Linked DNA regions of Homo sapiens: all the other regions are linked to region 2. Evidence: promoter capture Hi-C in 16 types of primary human blood cells and fetal thymus (Javierre and others, 2016). All regions are on one chromosome and are shown on one strand. The core of a region is centred on a gene start or on the middle of the fragment in contact, and the rest is flanking DNA. Distances in the headings are between cores, read along the strand shown.

Region 1 (4,820 bases), core at 1,794-4,293, 790 kb after region 2:
CTCCCTACGCCTTTATCCTCCAGTTAGCTCCCTTCCTCTTCTGGCCAGGCCCATCCCAGAAGAAGTAACTGTTCCCTTTTATGTGCTCTCACAGGTCTCTGTACCCACAATTATATTTGAGTCCTTATCATGCTTTATTAGTTAATCATTTATTTATTTGTCTCAACTGTCTACAAACTTCTGGACCTGGGACTTCTCCCTGAACTCCTCAAGGGTAGGGTCAGGAGTTAATGTTTACATCCTAAAGACTTGGCAGGGCTATTCCATAAAGGTTCAATGAAACAATAAATGTCCTAGCCACTTTTACTCATCCTATTTTATTAATAAATAAAGACTGGAAAAATTAGCACAAGTATATCAAAACAACAAGCTTAACTAAAATCAGTTTTCTTTTAAAAGTCCCCCAGCAAATTATTCTTTTAAAAAATGTAATAAAAACAAAAATCCCAATTATTGATTTGTGCTTCCTGATAGAAATTAGTCATAACTAGCCAGGCACAGTGGCTCACACCTGTAATCCCAACACTTTGGGAGGCTGAGGCAGGCGGATCACCTGAGGTCGGGAGCTCAAGACTAGCCTGACCAACACAGAGAAACCCCGTCTCTACTAACAATACAAAATTAGCCAGGCGTAGTGGCACATGTCTGTAATCCCAGCTACTCAGGAGGCTGAGGCAGGAGAATCGCTTGAACCCGGGAGGCAGAGGCTGTGGTGAGCCGAGATCGTGCCATTGCACTCCAGCCCTGGCAACAAGAGCGAACCTCCCTCTCAAAAAAAAAAAAAAAAGAAATTAGTCATAACTCTGTTTCAAAATAACTTTTTAATTAATGGGCAACACAAGTAAGAAGAATATACCACTTAACCAAAGTAAATGTAATTGTTACCACACAAATCACTATTGGACGCCAATGGAATAAACCATGATTATTATTTACACAAGATCACAAACAAAACTACTGGCTTGAAATATGTGTTCATTCTAGGACATTGCTAGAGCCTTTGAAAAAGAAAAATATATATATTAAAAATGAAAAATTTGTACATGAATTAATGTTTCCCCTTAATACATAACACATCTGTATGTCATAGGAAGATAGTAGGCATGGTGGTAGTAAGACAGTAAGAACACAGGCTGGAAACACAATGCTAATTGTGTGATATGGACAAATTACTTAAACTTCAATGTGCTTCAGTTTCCTCATCTGCAAAATAAAGATAATAAATGTATCCGCCTCACAGTGATGCTAGATGACTGAGTTGGCACATATAAGTCCCCGGATTCAGTGCCTGGCAGAGTACATGAATGCAGAGGAATAAATTTCAAATATTTTCACTGTTTTTTTAACTTTTTAAAGCCCTTTCACACATACTGTCTTTTCTTTTTCCTCCCAACAGTGCAATGAGATTGTTTGAATAAGAAATACTCACTTTAGAGATAAGACACCAATAGTGAAGTTGTATGATTACCCTAAGATATTTTTAAGTGGCAGAGTTTGGACTAGAATCCACCCATAACCTCAACCCCAGGACAAACTGACCAAATCTCCATGGATCCAGTTTGGAAGAATCTTTTGGGTTTTCCCCATTGCTTCCTCCTGGTTGTCAGCAACAGCCAGCCTAAAGACCTGGTGGGGGCAGATGCAGACGACCATGTGTTCAAATTAAAAAGTAGGAGAAGCCTAGCTTTCACAGAAACTGACACATAGTTGGCACTCCAGAGATTGCAGCTATTGATGACTGAAACACAAGCGCTATTACGTTTTTCTCAGTTACAGAACAAGGTACTACTCCATAAAATCAAGCCTACTACCAAAAACAAAAGTCAGTTAACATTATGCTTATCTGTCATATCAAGCATATCAAAGTACAATGTGCAACAGAAACCTAAACGAAAAAGTGATGATGTATTTTTACTTACTCTCAAAAAATATGTTTTACAAAAAGGGCTTTCATCAAGTCAGTTTTTTGAAAACTAACCCACGTAGTTATACTTCATGAGATGACGTTTCTTTGAACAAATAAGTTAATGATATGAATAAATATTTCATCTTGGTAATGCCTTCAACACATATCTTCAATACTTTTCTTGGACTTAAAGTGACTTCAATCCCTAATCTCATCTACTGCCATGTACACAAGAAACACAGTTAATGAACTTTAAAGGCAGATGCAGTATTTCCAGGGAAGCCACCTGAACCAGGGAAGTACAAGAAAGCAAAACATCTCCACAACCACATCTAAGTGCCTTATCTTTCAACTTCTTTTCTTCAAATGGGCAATTAGAAGCTACGATACACCTTAAAGATCAGGTTTGGCATCCGCCCTGGCTAGGGCCTACCTTTCTTTTCGCGGCACTGCCACTCTGGCACCTACAGGCAGGCCTTTGGCGCCTGCAGGACTCGCAGGGAAGACAACCCCAGCCCCTGCTCTCCACGGCTCTCGTCGAAGCCCCGCACGTGGTGACCACTTGAGACGTTTTAGTGCATGGGATTTAACAGGGTCAGACCTCAGGTTGCGTTCCGGGACAGTGCAGCTCCCAGACCCGCTGAGGTCGCAGGAGGAAGGTTTTGACGCTCCTAGCGTAAACACCGACGGGACCCTCTTCGCCCCGCGGCTACCTCGCCCTCGCCGCTCGCGCGGCCCCTCAGCACCTGACGCCTCAGCCAGCCTCCAGGAGTCGCTTCCCCGCGCCTCCTTCCACCTGAGCCAGCGACGCTACCGCCACCTGCACCGGGACCCCAAATGCCAGGCCAGTGGCCGTTACCCGAGGTCGCGGCCCGGGGAAGGTCCATGGCTCAGGAGGAAAAGCCCGGGCTGCAGCTCCCCTTCCTGCACCTCTGAGATCCCCCGGCCGCCGCCATTTTCCTCGCGCCGTAACCCCACCTGATAGTTCCAGCCTCCCACCTGTGACAAGCAGGGCACGCCGCGCGACGCCGAGTGGGGTGCGTGGGCAAGCTGGGGCTCCGTAGGGGTCACAACCTCCGTGCGGAACCCGCCGTTAATTCATCCCGTAACGCGGAGGCGTCCGGCCGTCGCCCTAGTAATGCGTCCCGGAAGGCTACGTCCTGATTGGCTGCAGGCGCCGTGACGCAACGGCGTCCCCGGCTGCGTGGGAAACCCGGGTCCCCGGCGCCCCGCGCTTGCTCCACAGCCCGGGATACCCCGGGTACCTTTCTTTGAGAGCTCCTTTAAAGAGGCCTCGCTTATTTCCTCGTCTGGCCTCCTGGAGAGGAGGGACCCACGGAACGGTGGGGTGTAGGGGTGAGAAAACAACGAAATAGGAAATTAGCGGAGGTCATTTGTCCGAGGGAACCTAATGGTTCATTCAACCCCTAGAGCTGCAAAATGGAAAACAGAAATCTGGGAGTTTAATTTACAAGCCTAAATTTGGTGCGCGAAGTCACAGGACAAATCAGTAGTAGAAGCAGTTATAGAACCCAGGTTCCCTGATCAGGAGCACAAAGTTTTTCTAGCACACTCAGTGTTTCCCCAGTCCTAGAAAATGTTTCCTCCCAGTTCCCATAGCAATTTCATCACACTGCTCTTAAAAGGTCTCGATCACCTATCATGGTGTGTCTGTCCTGTCCCCTAACCTACTAGATTGCATGCCCCTGAATGGTGGGGACTGTGGTTAAACCCCTTTTCATTTCCCTTAAGCAATTCCCTCCTCAACTTGGCCTTCAACAAATACAATAAGAATCTTAAAAATAATAAACATAGCTACACATCACACACAGCCACTCATCAGTAGTTCATGTATGTCTATACGTTTTATCCGTTTATTCAACAAAGCACAGAGTGAATATTTTTAAAATTACAAGGTTCCTGACCTCACAAAATTTATGGTGTAATAATAATGACCATCTACATGTTGGCTGCATAGCTTCAATATAGCTAAATTATATCCCCAAATTGCCTGTAAATCAAAGATTCTTGTGCTCTTTTCCTAAATTAGCTTCATAATTTCTCTAAGTTTGTTCCAAAACATTTTAATATTTAAGATGTGCTAAAATTGCATCAGAAAGTGAAGAATGACTACAGAGAGAAACACCAGAACAAAAGTCAATTCTGCCAATTATGCCTATGACTTTAGGCCTCCTTTTTACCTTTAAAATAAGATTACTGGAATAAAAGATCTCCCAATTCTTTTTTGTTGTTGTTAAGAGTTGGCCTGGCTATGCTCCAGAACCTTCAAGGGCTCTACTGTGGTTCTTTGGGGGCTTGCCGGAGGTTCCTCATAGCCTTTGCAGCTCCATTGCAGAGAGCTCTAGCATTGTGAGGTGTGTCCGGTGATACAGCCCAAGAGGCAAGGTTGCCCTTACCGCCCTAACCACAGAGGACAGTGCTGGGCTCTTTCTTTTTTCTTTTCTTTGCTTTTTTTTTTTTTTTTTTTTTTTTTGAGACAGGGTCTCGCTCTGTCACCTAGGCTGGAGTGCAGTGGCATGATTGTGGCCCACTACAACCCCTGCCTCCTGGACTCAAGCAATCCTCCCACCTCAGCCTCCAGACTAACTGGAACTACAGGCATCTGCCACCATGCCCAGCTAATTTTGTGTTTTTTGTAGAGACAGGATTTCAACATGTTGCCAGGCTGGTCTCGAACTCCTGAGCTCAAGCTATCCACCCACCTTGGCCTCTCAAAGTGCTGGGATTAGAGGCTTGAGCCACCGCGCCTGGCCCTGAGCCCGTTCTTGATCTGAGCTACTGATCAGTAGCCACCTTCCACGTCAACTGCTAAAGGGATAGGAACAGAATTCCCAAGGGCAAAATATGCTGATTTCTAAACTCAGAGATCTGCTAAGTGTCATGCTTCTTTCTT
Region 2 (4,634 bases), core at 1,342-3,841:
GATGCTAAGGCATGGATGTTGTCTTGTCAATGATTGTACACCAGGAAGGAGAAGCTACAGATAATGTATGAAAGGTTATAAATACCATATGTGTAGAGAGCCAGGGAAGGCTGAGAGGGCAAGGGCCATCTGCAAATGGCCTGAACTTCCCCTGAGGCATGAATGGGCCAAGTGGAGGCCAGGGCTCACAAAGGAAACTCTGCAGGCAACCCAGGCAGCTCTGAAGTGCCTTTGGCAGCAATGGGTGCTTAATAAAACAAGAAGCATGGCTTAGATCAGGGGTTCCCACCCTAAAGTCCAAAGAAGGCCCTTGGACCCCCAACATTATATGCAAATTTGGGATGTACGTACATTTTTCTAAAGATAGAAAGTTAAGAAGCAATGGATTAGTTTAATCTCTAAGGCCTCTTGCAGTTCTATCAATATAAAACATACAAGAGCCAACAGGCCCATCACCTCCCAAACTCCTTCAGAAATCACTTGGCCTCTTAAAGCTGCTGAGCCCTAGGCTGTGCACTCCACAAGGACAAACTCAATGTGGTGTTGTGTTTAGACATGACCTATTAGCATGGTGCTACTTCCAGAAGGCTGGCGTTACAAGGTGGATGTTAGAGAAAATTAGTACCTAGAAAATTAGTAACTAGACTGTTAACTTTTCTGCACTCCTCACCAAACAAAGCACAGCATTTCACATGCTGTGGATGCTCAAACAGCCAAGGAATAGGAATAAGGGTACCCCTGCTTTCCAAACCCTCTGCAGGAGATGAGCACACTTGACTTTGGGGGGCCACCAAACTCCATTCTCAAGCTGTGGGAGCCTGAGTCTTAAGACAGAGGGCCACAGCATTCTCAACAATTTGGAATGGCTATAAAAGGGGCCAAGAAAATGGCTGGCCTTGAAGTTGGGAAGATTGAGGACTGGAGTGAAGCCTGTTCTCTAAAGATAAGAAGGGCCTCTGGTGGACTTCTCTGAATGCAGGGTGAACAAATTGACTTCTTGAGCCTCCCTCCAGCCCAAGGATTCTGTAATTGAAGGGAATGGATGACTCATTCTCAGAGTTACAGGCGTTTAGCCAAGCATCTCCTCACATGCATCTAGGACTTAACATCCCAGGTCTGCTGCCCACTCTTTAGATGGCTCTGCACAATTCATTTAACTTCTCTGCGCCTCGGTTATCTCACCTGCAAACTCAGCAACTGGATGAGACAATGCCAATATCCCTTCCATCTCTAAGCGTCTTTAATATTATTATTAAGCCATTAAGATCAAATAAGAGAAAGGGGAAAAAAAAAGCATTCTGCTTCTGGACTCAGCTTCTGTTGAGTCTCCAAGATATATACACAGGAGCTCTGCTTTAGAGAAGGAAATGATAAAAGGAGGACAAGTAGCATCCCCAGGCCACCTCCGTTCCCAGGCCCGCACCCATCAGAACTCAGCTGCAACTGTGAGGCCCCCATGTGAGTGCCAAGCCCCTTGAAAAACAAGGGAAGAGGTTTTGCCCGTGAATGATGTGTTGCTAAAAAGTGAAGACGTAAGACATCCCCACCAACATAAGGCGCTCCAGAGACCAGGAGCTCTTCCATTGTGCCTCCTGGGCCTCGGTTTCATCATCCATAAGATGGGGAGACTGGGAATGGCTTTACACTTGAATACTTCAGGTTGACCACCACAGCCAAGGGCCAAGTAGAGTGGACAGGTATTGGGTAGGATGGGAAGGGGGACCAGCAAAAATTGTGGGGTAAGATTTTGACGCCTGCACAAACACAGATCTCTTCAGAGCCCTCAACTGAAGGCTTCCCATTGGTCCCCTGTCTGGGATGGAGCACCAGGAGTGACCGGAGGGACTAGGCGCTGGGCTCCGGGGTGGGCTGCCAGGACCCTGGGCCGGCTCACCTGATGAAGGTGGTCTTCCCAGTGGAGTACTGGCCCACCAGCAGAACCATGGGCTTGTTGTCGAAGTCGGCATCCTCCAGGGCGGGCGAGTGGAACTCGTGGAAGCGGTAATGCTCTTCCAAGGGCAGCAGCTTGCTCTTGTAGAGTTTCTTGAGCCCCTCACTCACCGTCTGGAAAACCTCGGGGTCCTTCCTCCGGCGGTCGTCCGTACCCAGCCAGCTGAACATCGCGGCCGCCGCTCGCCCCCGGCACGCAGCCCCAGGGGAAGACTCCTCCTCAGGGGAAGATGTCCCGTAGGACCGGTCCGCCGGGCTCCGAGCCGCGCCGCCGCCTCACCCAAGCGCGGGGCTCAGCCGCACCATGGCCCGGGCACGCGGCTAGGAGGGCCGGGAGCGCACTCTCCCTGCTCCTGGGACCAAGCCCAGCCGCTGCTGCATCCAGCAGCCCAGGCCGGAGGGAGGATAAATAATCTGGGCTTGAGGAGGAGGGGTGAAATCTTGGCAATTAAAGTTGAACCTGCAAGGAAACTGCCAGATGCCGGGGTCCCAAGCCGGGGTCCCCGATCGGCCCCCAGCCCTCGCCTGCTCTGCCCTGCGTGCAGCAAGGGATGCTTCGGCTCCGCTCCTGCCGGACCGAGGCGGCTCAGGGGAGACGGCGACGCTGCCCAGCCCGCGGACAGCTCTGCATCCGCAGCAGCATCCTGCAGCCCCAGGCGGTGGTTTAAATGCCAGCTGGGCAGGAAGCCGGCGCGCAGAGGAAGTCCCCTAGTACTGGCAAGGCAGGGCCGGCCCCACGGTTGCGGCGACGGGAAGCCGCGCAGGGCGCCGCCATGTTTGTGGGCAGGCGCTCAGCTCTAGACCTGCGGCCGCGCGGGGAGAGGGATGCTGACCCAGTCCAGTGGGAGAGTGCCGGTGTCTCAGTCTCCGCCTCTGGGGCTTCGATTTGGGAACAGCGCCCTCTCAGGGACGGCTGCGAGGACAGAGTTGACCTATTCATCACACTCCCTGCTTTGAATCGCCTCTCCTTCAGTTGCTGAGGTCAATTCCCTAGGAAAACAGGTACTCTAGTATTGGGGGATTTTTTTTTTTTTTGGCATAGAAAGGGGATCCACTATCAGGTTACACAAAATAACCAAAACTGTCACTACCCAAACTTTTAGCTAGGCTTAGGGTGAAGTCAAAATCGTTCCCATTTACTTATTCATTCATTCCAGCAAAACAAAACAAGCCAAGAAGCAAAATCCCTGCAAGTATTGGGAATTTATTATGGGGCAGTTACAATTTTGGTGACTGTGGATACAGAGATGAGTGCTGAACAGACTCTCCCTTCCAGGAACTCCAGTGAAGGCAGGCTTTAAAGAGGAGGCATGAGCAGAGGGTCATGGGAATACAGGGAGGAGTCACTCCTTTTGTGTGGCTAATTTGAGGAAGGCTTCATGGAAAGCATGACTGTAAGCTGGATCCTAAATGATGAATTGACATCCATTGTTCTAGGAGCGTAAGGAGTATTTGCAAAGGCTTGAGGAACTTGGTGTGTCCAAGGCAGAGTAAACAGTTTGGCATAGCTGGAGTGTAGGGTTTAGGAAGGTGAAAGAGAGTGAGGGAGGCCAAGCATGAAAGGCTTTGCCAGAGATGGGGAACCAATAGCAATGCTATTACTAATCATTGTTACATTAACAAAATGCTCAGCATGTGCAGGGGCCTGGGCTAAGTTCTCAGTGAACATTGCTTTATTTAACCTTCATGGCAGATCATATTATCTCCAGCATCATACTAAGGAGAGTGAGTGGGAACACTGTCCAGGTGTAGGCAAAAGCAGTGCATCGTGTGTAGAGAATTTAAACCCAATAATAAACTTGCTGAAAGTTGATGTGCTTTGTATTGGCACCATTCTAAACAGTGTAGTGATAAAACACTCCTCCCTGCCCAGGCTAATGACTCCCACTACCCTCCCTTCCACAGATGAAGAAGGAGTAGGCTATGGACCAGGCAGGAACTGGAATGCCAAGAGCAGTGTTGGAGGGGCAAAAGAGGTTGGGGGTTGATATGGTTTTGCTTTGTGTCCCCGCATAAATCTCATCTCTAATTGTAATCCCCATAATCCCCATGCGTTTAGGGAGAGAGCTGGTGGGAGGAGATTGGATCATAGGGACAGTTTCATTCATGCTGTTCTCATGATAGTGAGTGAGTTCTCGTGAGAGCTGATGGTTTTATAAGGGGCTCTTCCCACTTGGTTCCTCATACTTCTCTCTCCTGCCGCCTTATGAAGGACGTGTTTGCTTCCCTTTATGCCATGACTGTAAGTTTCCTGAGGCCTCTCTAGGCATGCAGAACTGTGAGTTAATTAAACCTTTTTCCTTTATAAATTACCCAGTCTTAGGTATTTCTTCACAGCAGTGTGAAAACAGACGAATACAGAGGCCAAGAGACCATTTAGGAAACTATTCCAAAACTTAGGAGACAGCTGCAATGGGATTGGAGAAGAGGTCAGACTCAAAAGATTTTTTTCATGGAATAGAATTGTCAGATCTTGGTATGTGATAAAAAAAAGAGGACATAAGGGTGAGGCACAGTCTAGGATGATTTTGAATTTTCTACCATAGGGGATAAGATCATTGGAGAAGCTCTTCCACTAATTAGGGGAGGCAGAGAGAGAGCTGATTTAGCAGACAGAGATAATGTGTTCAATCTAAAACGTGTTGCGTTTGAAGTGCCTGCAGGAGCTTCAAGAGGAGTGTGGT
Region 3 (4,790 bases), core at 849-3,348, 530 kb after region 2:
ATTTTCCAAATGAAAATCAAATACGGCACACGGATCTGCTTTATGGGTGATAAAGTTGCAATGGCTCTAACAGAGGTGAAATTGATTCATATTTGTCAGGCCGGGAGATGAGAGAACTAGGCTCCAGGACCCCTTGGCCTCTTGCCTGGCAGCCCCTGTAGACATATTTTTGGACAGGAGGTATTTCAGAGTGAGAGCATGCCACAGGTAACTTCACTTAGCTCAGAATGGGAGCCACCAGCTTTTGAGCACCTGTCATGTACAGGAATTAGGCTCCATTGTCTCCAGCCCTTAAACTCCCTTACAAGGATTAATACCAGAATGCTCAGATGAGGAAATGGAGGGTCTTGCCCCAGGCCATGAAGACACAAGGAGCAGAGTGCGGGTTGGTTGTACTCCAAAGCCATGCTCTTTCCATTGGCCCACACAGCTCTGGGAGAGGAAGACAGCTCCTGGCCCAGGCGTGCCTGCTCAAGGGAGAGCCGGCCAGTCCCGAGAGGGGCTAAGCATCTGCTGTCCTGGGCTGGGAAGGGCTGCTTCAGCACTGCCTGCCAGGAGGGCCTAGGAGTCTAGAGATGAGAGTGAGAGAGATTGACAGGAAACCTGGATGGTGCCTTTGTAAGGTACAGTGATCCATCTCAATAATAATTGTGTCACCTCGTCAATATCAAAATATCTCATCAGCTTTCATGAGTCACTGTAGGAATGGCCAGCTGTAAACTCACATCTAGAAAAGGGGAAAACTCAGAAATGTCTCAAGTGCCAGCCTGTTCAGTCCTATAAACTCTTCCATGCCATGCTGTCCATCCAGTGCAATAAGCAGAAAACTCGGTGAGCATGGGCTGACTCCAGGCCAAAACGAGCTCATATGCGTCTGTGACTCCACGAGGCTATGAGCACCTCAAAAGCAGCAGCTCTGCCTTGCCCAGGTTGATCTCCAGGGGCCAGCTTGCGCCTGTTGCCTCGCGAGCCCTCAGTAGGAAGCTGTGTGGCCTGTCCAAAAATATGCCTAAAGGAGCTGCCAGGCAAGAGGCCAGGAGGTCCTGGAGCCTAGTTCTCCCGTTTCCCAGCCTGACAAATATGAATCAATTTTACCTCTGTTGGAGCCACTGGAACTTCATCACCCATTAAGCAGACCCATGTGCCCTATTTGATTTTCATTTGGGAAACCAGGTACAATATTGACATTTCCATGGGGTCCTGGGGCCGAGAGAGCTTGTTAGCATGAAGCCTTTCCTCCACCCATCAAGGCTCCATCCCTGCCACCTACCTCCCAGCTGTTCAACCCTGACCCTAACCTCGGGGCCTAGCTGCTCTCCTCTGTCAAGTGGGCATTTTAAAATACTACCACTTGTCCAAACCCACAGATTGTACGTCACCAAGAGTGAAGAAAAACCTTCGGACTGTGAGTGATCATGCTGTATAGACATAGACTCACTGATTTTATCACATGTGCCACTCTGGTGTGGGATGCTGGCCACGGGGAGGCTGTGCATATGTGGGGGCAGAGGGTATACAGGAACTCTCTGTACTTTCTGCTCAGCCTTGCTGTGAACCTAAAACCGTTTTGAAAAAATCAAGTGTATCTAAAAGGCAGGGAGTTGGGAATACTGCCTCTTGAGGTTGCTGTGAGAATTGAATAAGATAATGTCAATGCACCCAGCGCGGTCTTTGGTGCACAGTGTGGTCCATGGTAGCTGAATGAGGGGCTATCACCCTCCTGAAACCCAGGAGGAGGCTGAGGGCAGTGACAGATGCTCACTTCTAGCACATCTCATCTCCTCCGGGGTGGGGATAGGTGAAAGAACTGAGGACCAGATGATCTTGCTAGTACTCAGGAGATAGGGCAGCAAAGATGACTCAAGAAAGAATAACAGGCCCAGGCCTAGGATCAGCCCCTCCCTCCCTCTCTAGCAGACAGATCTTCTCAGAGCCGACAGATCTTCTCAGAGCCAACAGAAGAAATGGGAGAGGACTTGGCTATTTGGCAAAAGCACAAATCTGGCTGGGCTATGCCCCGGCTCTCAAGTCCTCATCTGCTCCACAATGATCTCACCAGGCACACTGGCCTCTCCTCCCACTGGGTGGACCCTGCAGCCATTATGGGTGCCATTCAGCCGAGCAGGAAGAGAACAGGCTGGTGTCTGCAGACCTGCATTTCAGGCCCCATTCTGTGGCTGTGTGACTTTGAGAACATCTCTCCCTTCTCTGTGCCTCTGTTTCCCCAGGCCAGCTTTTCTCTCTTCCTTCACTGAATATGTCACTGAGTGCTATCCTTGAGCCAGATAATCCCTGAGGGTCCTTTCAATGTGATATGATTTTTTTTGTTTTTGTTTTTGTTTTTGTTTTTTGAGACGGTGTCTCACTCTGTCGCCCAGGCTGGAGTGCACTAGCATGATCTCGGCTCATTGCAAGCTCCGCCTCCCGAGTTCACGCCATTCTCCTGCCTCAGCCTCCTGAGTAACTGGGATTACAGGCGCCCGCTACCATGCCCAGCTAATTTTTTGTATTTTTAGTAGAGATGCGGTTTCACCGTGTTAGCCACGATGGTCTCGATCTCCTGACCTTGTGATCCGCCCGCCTCAGCCTCCCAAAGTGCTGGGATTACAGGCGTGAGCCACCGTGCATGGCTAAAATAATATATTTTAAATGCATTGGAGAAATATAAAACATGCAGACACGAAATATACAGATAAAAATGGAAATGTTTTCTTAATCATGGGAGATGGCACTTTTCCTCCTGAGTTCTGCCTGCGAATCTACATTTCTATAGACTTTGTGAACATGAATGTTTGCTTGGAAAGTGCCTGGATAGCTTTGAAGTCTGCAAGGCTGTGATCTTGCCCTCAGGATCTGGCTGATACTGGTCAATCACCTGCCTCCTTGCAAAAGGAGGGTAGCATGAAGCCGGGACAAACATGGATACTTCCTGGACCACAGCTCTTGAGTTCCCTTGAACTTCCCTCCACAGCCACACCTGTTCTCCCTGCCAGACCCGTCCCCTGGCCCAGAGCCTGTTGAGGAACCAGATCTCTGGGGGAGGCACAGGATGTGGAGGGACATGTATGAGTTTTGGCTTCAAACAGATATAATTTCAATCTTAGCTCTGCCATTGACTTGCTGTGTGACCTTGGGAAGTAACTTACCGTCTCTGAACCTTGTTGCCCTGTATCTATTTAGCAGAGAGAATAAATCTCTCTCTGACAGGGTCGTTGTAAGTATTATATAGAATGACACAGGTCATGTCTCTGGCCACATAAATAGCTGAGCCACTTTATTTAACAAGATAGTTGGAATCTCGTCCTTGGATGAGATAAACCGTATAAAGCGTTAGGTCGTGCCTAGGTAAGAACTTGCCTCTATTGGCTACTATCATCATCATCATGTTGCTCATTTTCATCACCATCTCTATCATTGTATTCCCTTCCCTGTGACCTCCAGGTGGCAGCATGGGGCCATGGAGCCACAGCCCTCCTCCTCAGGCTGTCACTTCAAAACTGTGAGCGGGCAGGACCCTTGGGTGACACTCCTTGGGTGACACTAACCTGAGCTGTCACCATGATAGCCAAGTGAGGAGCACTTAAACACCTTATTTTCATCCTTAGGACCTTCTGCAGGAAACAGTTATCCACATCGTATATGGATGAAAGGTGGGCTCGGGTGGGAGGAGCCACTAGTGGGAGTGGAGCCAGGAATCAAAGCCAGTCTCCACTACCTGCCGGCTGGGGCACCTGCCCACTGCGCTGGAGCCTCCGAGTGGGTTCCAGCATCTCACCTGGCAGGTAGGAAAGTGAGGCCAAGGGGCGAGGGGACTAGCCCCAGGATCGGGCTCCTAGGAAGGGCTCCTTCCCACAGAGCCCAGTCTCCGGGAGTGGCTCGTCAGCCACGGCCCCAGCACTGACTTGAGCCTCAGCCTGGGCTCCCTGGAGGGTCTTGGCAACCTCAGGGAAGCATCCCATGACTTGTCTCTTTCTGCCTTGCCCAGTGGGACCTCTTCTGATCCCCAAGTAATCTTTGCTACCAGGAACCAAAGTGATTTGTGGAAACTTCCTCCAAATCCCCAGCTAATCCTCTTCTTTTAGTGAGGTCCTTTAGCAATCACATTTGCTGCTTGGTGACCTCTAATCCCCTTATTCTCAAAGGTCCCTGGGGAGGCACATGTGCAGATGTGTGTCCCTGCTGGGGCCTCTTGAGCTGGTCCAGGCCAGAGCAGCATGTCTGTGACCACCAGCTTGTCCCACTCAACTTTGATCTGCTTTCCTCCCTCCTAGGGGTCTCACTTTAAAGTTGGCCAGGGAGAGGCCTTAGGTCTGTGCCCAGTGGTCTCTGGATAGGGCTTGCTGGCCATCAGCTGAGAAGCCCCAGTCCCCTGGCGTCTCCATGCTGATTGACTCTCAGAGGGATCCTCATATTTGAAGTTAGGGCCTCAGTTTCCTCCTCTCTTAAACAGGGATAACATTAGTCGTACCTCGAAGGCATGCAATGAGGAGTTACCAAGGTAATATATCCAATGAGGTTAAAGAAATCAGAATCAGTTAGCTATGTTACCTAGAGTATCTACCTGCCACCCCCACCCCTCAAGGACTCCGATCTCACCCGCCTCTAAAGGGGTCACCCCAGGGTACGCAGTTGCTCACAAAGGCTGAGAGATGTGATGGGGGGCAGTTCTTCAGCAAGCCGAGCCCACTGTGGGCTTTGCAGGTTCTGGGGACTCCCTGTCCCTCAACAATTCTGACTGGGAAGGGGTCCAAGAACCTGGAGCTGTAAGAAGGTGCGCTGAACAGAGGAGA

Evidence for each region. Contacts are between HindIII fragments. The CHiCAGO score rates a contact against its expected background, and 5 or more counts as called.
Region 1: the fragment with the promoter of LCLAT1 here is called in contact with the fragment with the promoter of EHD3 in region 2 in 6 of 17 cell types (monocytes, fetal thymus, erythroblasts and 3 more); the score reaches 6.7 in monocytes.
Region 3: a fragment that was not itself captured here is called in contact with the fragment with the promoter of EHD3 in region 2 in 1 of 17 cell types (monocytes); the score reaches 5.0 in monocytes.

What each region holds. Positions count from the first base shown.
Region 1 is chr2:30,445,469-30,450,288 of GRCh38, reverse strand. LCLAT1 (lysocardiolipin acyltransferase 1) reads right to left here and starts at 3,043. Exons shown (of 6, transcript NM_001002257.3): 1 at 2,906-3,043. RefSeq lists enhancers at 1,879-2,615, 2,813-2,932, 3,143-3,202, 3,243-3,312, 2,616-3,353. The HindIII fragment of the contact is 6,952 bases long and covers 373-4,820 here.
Region 2 is chr2:31,232,109-31,236,742 of GRCh38, reverse strand. It overlaps EHD3 (EH domain containing 3), which reads right to left and starts at 2,591. Exons shown (of 6, transcript NM_014600.3): 1 at 1,895-2,591. The coding sequence starts at 2,121. It also overlaps a transcript of CAPN14 not described here. The HindIII fragment of the contact is 24,555 bases long and covers 1-4,634 here.
Region 3 is chr2:30,705,847-30,710,636 of GRCh38, reverse strand. No RefSeq gene overlaps it. Among named protein-coding and RNA genes, the nearest start is that of CAPN13, 99 kb to the left of the region's middle. The HindIII fragment of the contact is 8,206 bases long and covers 1-4,790 here.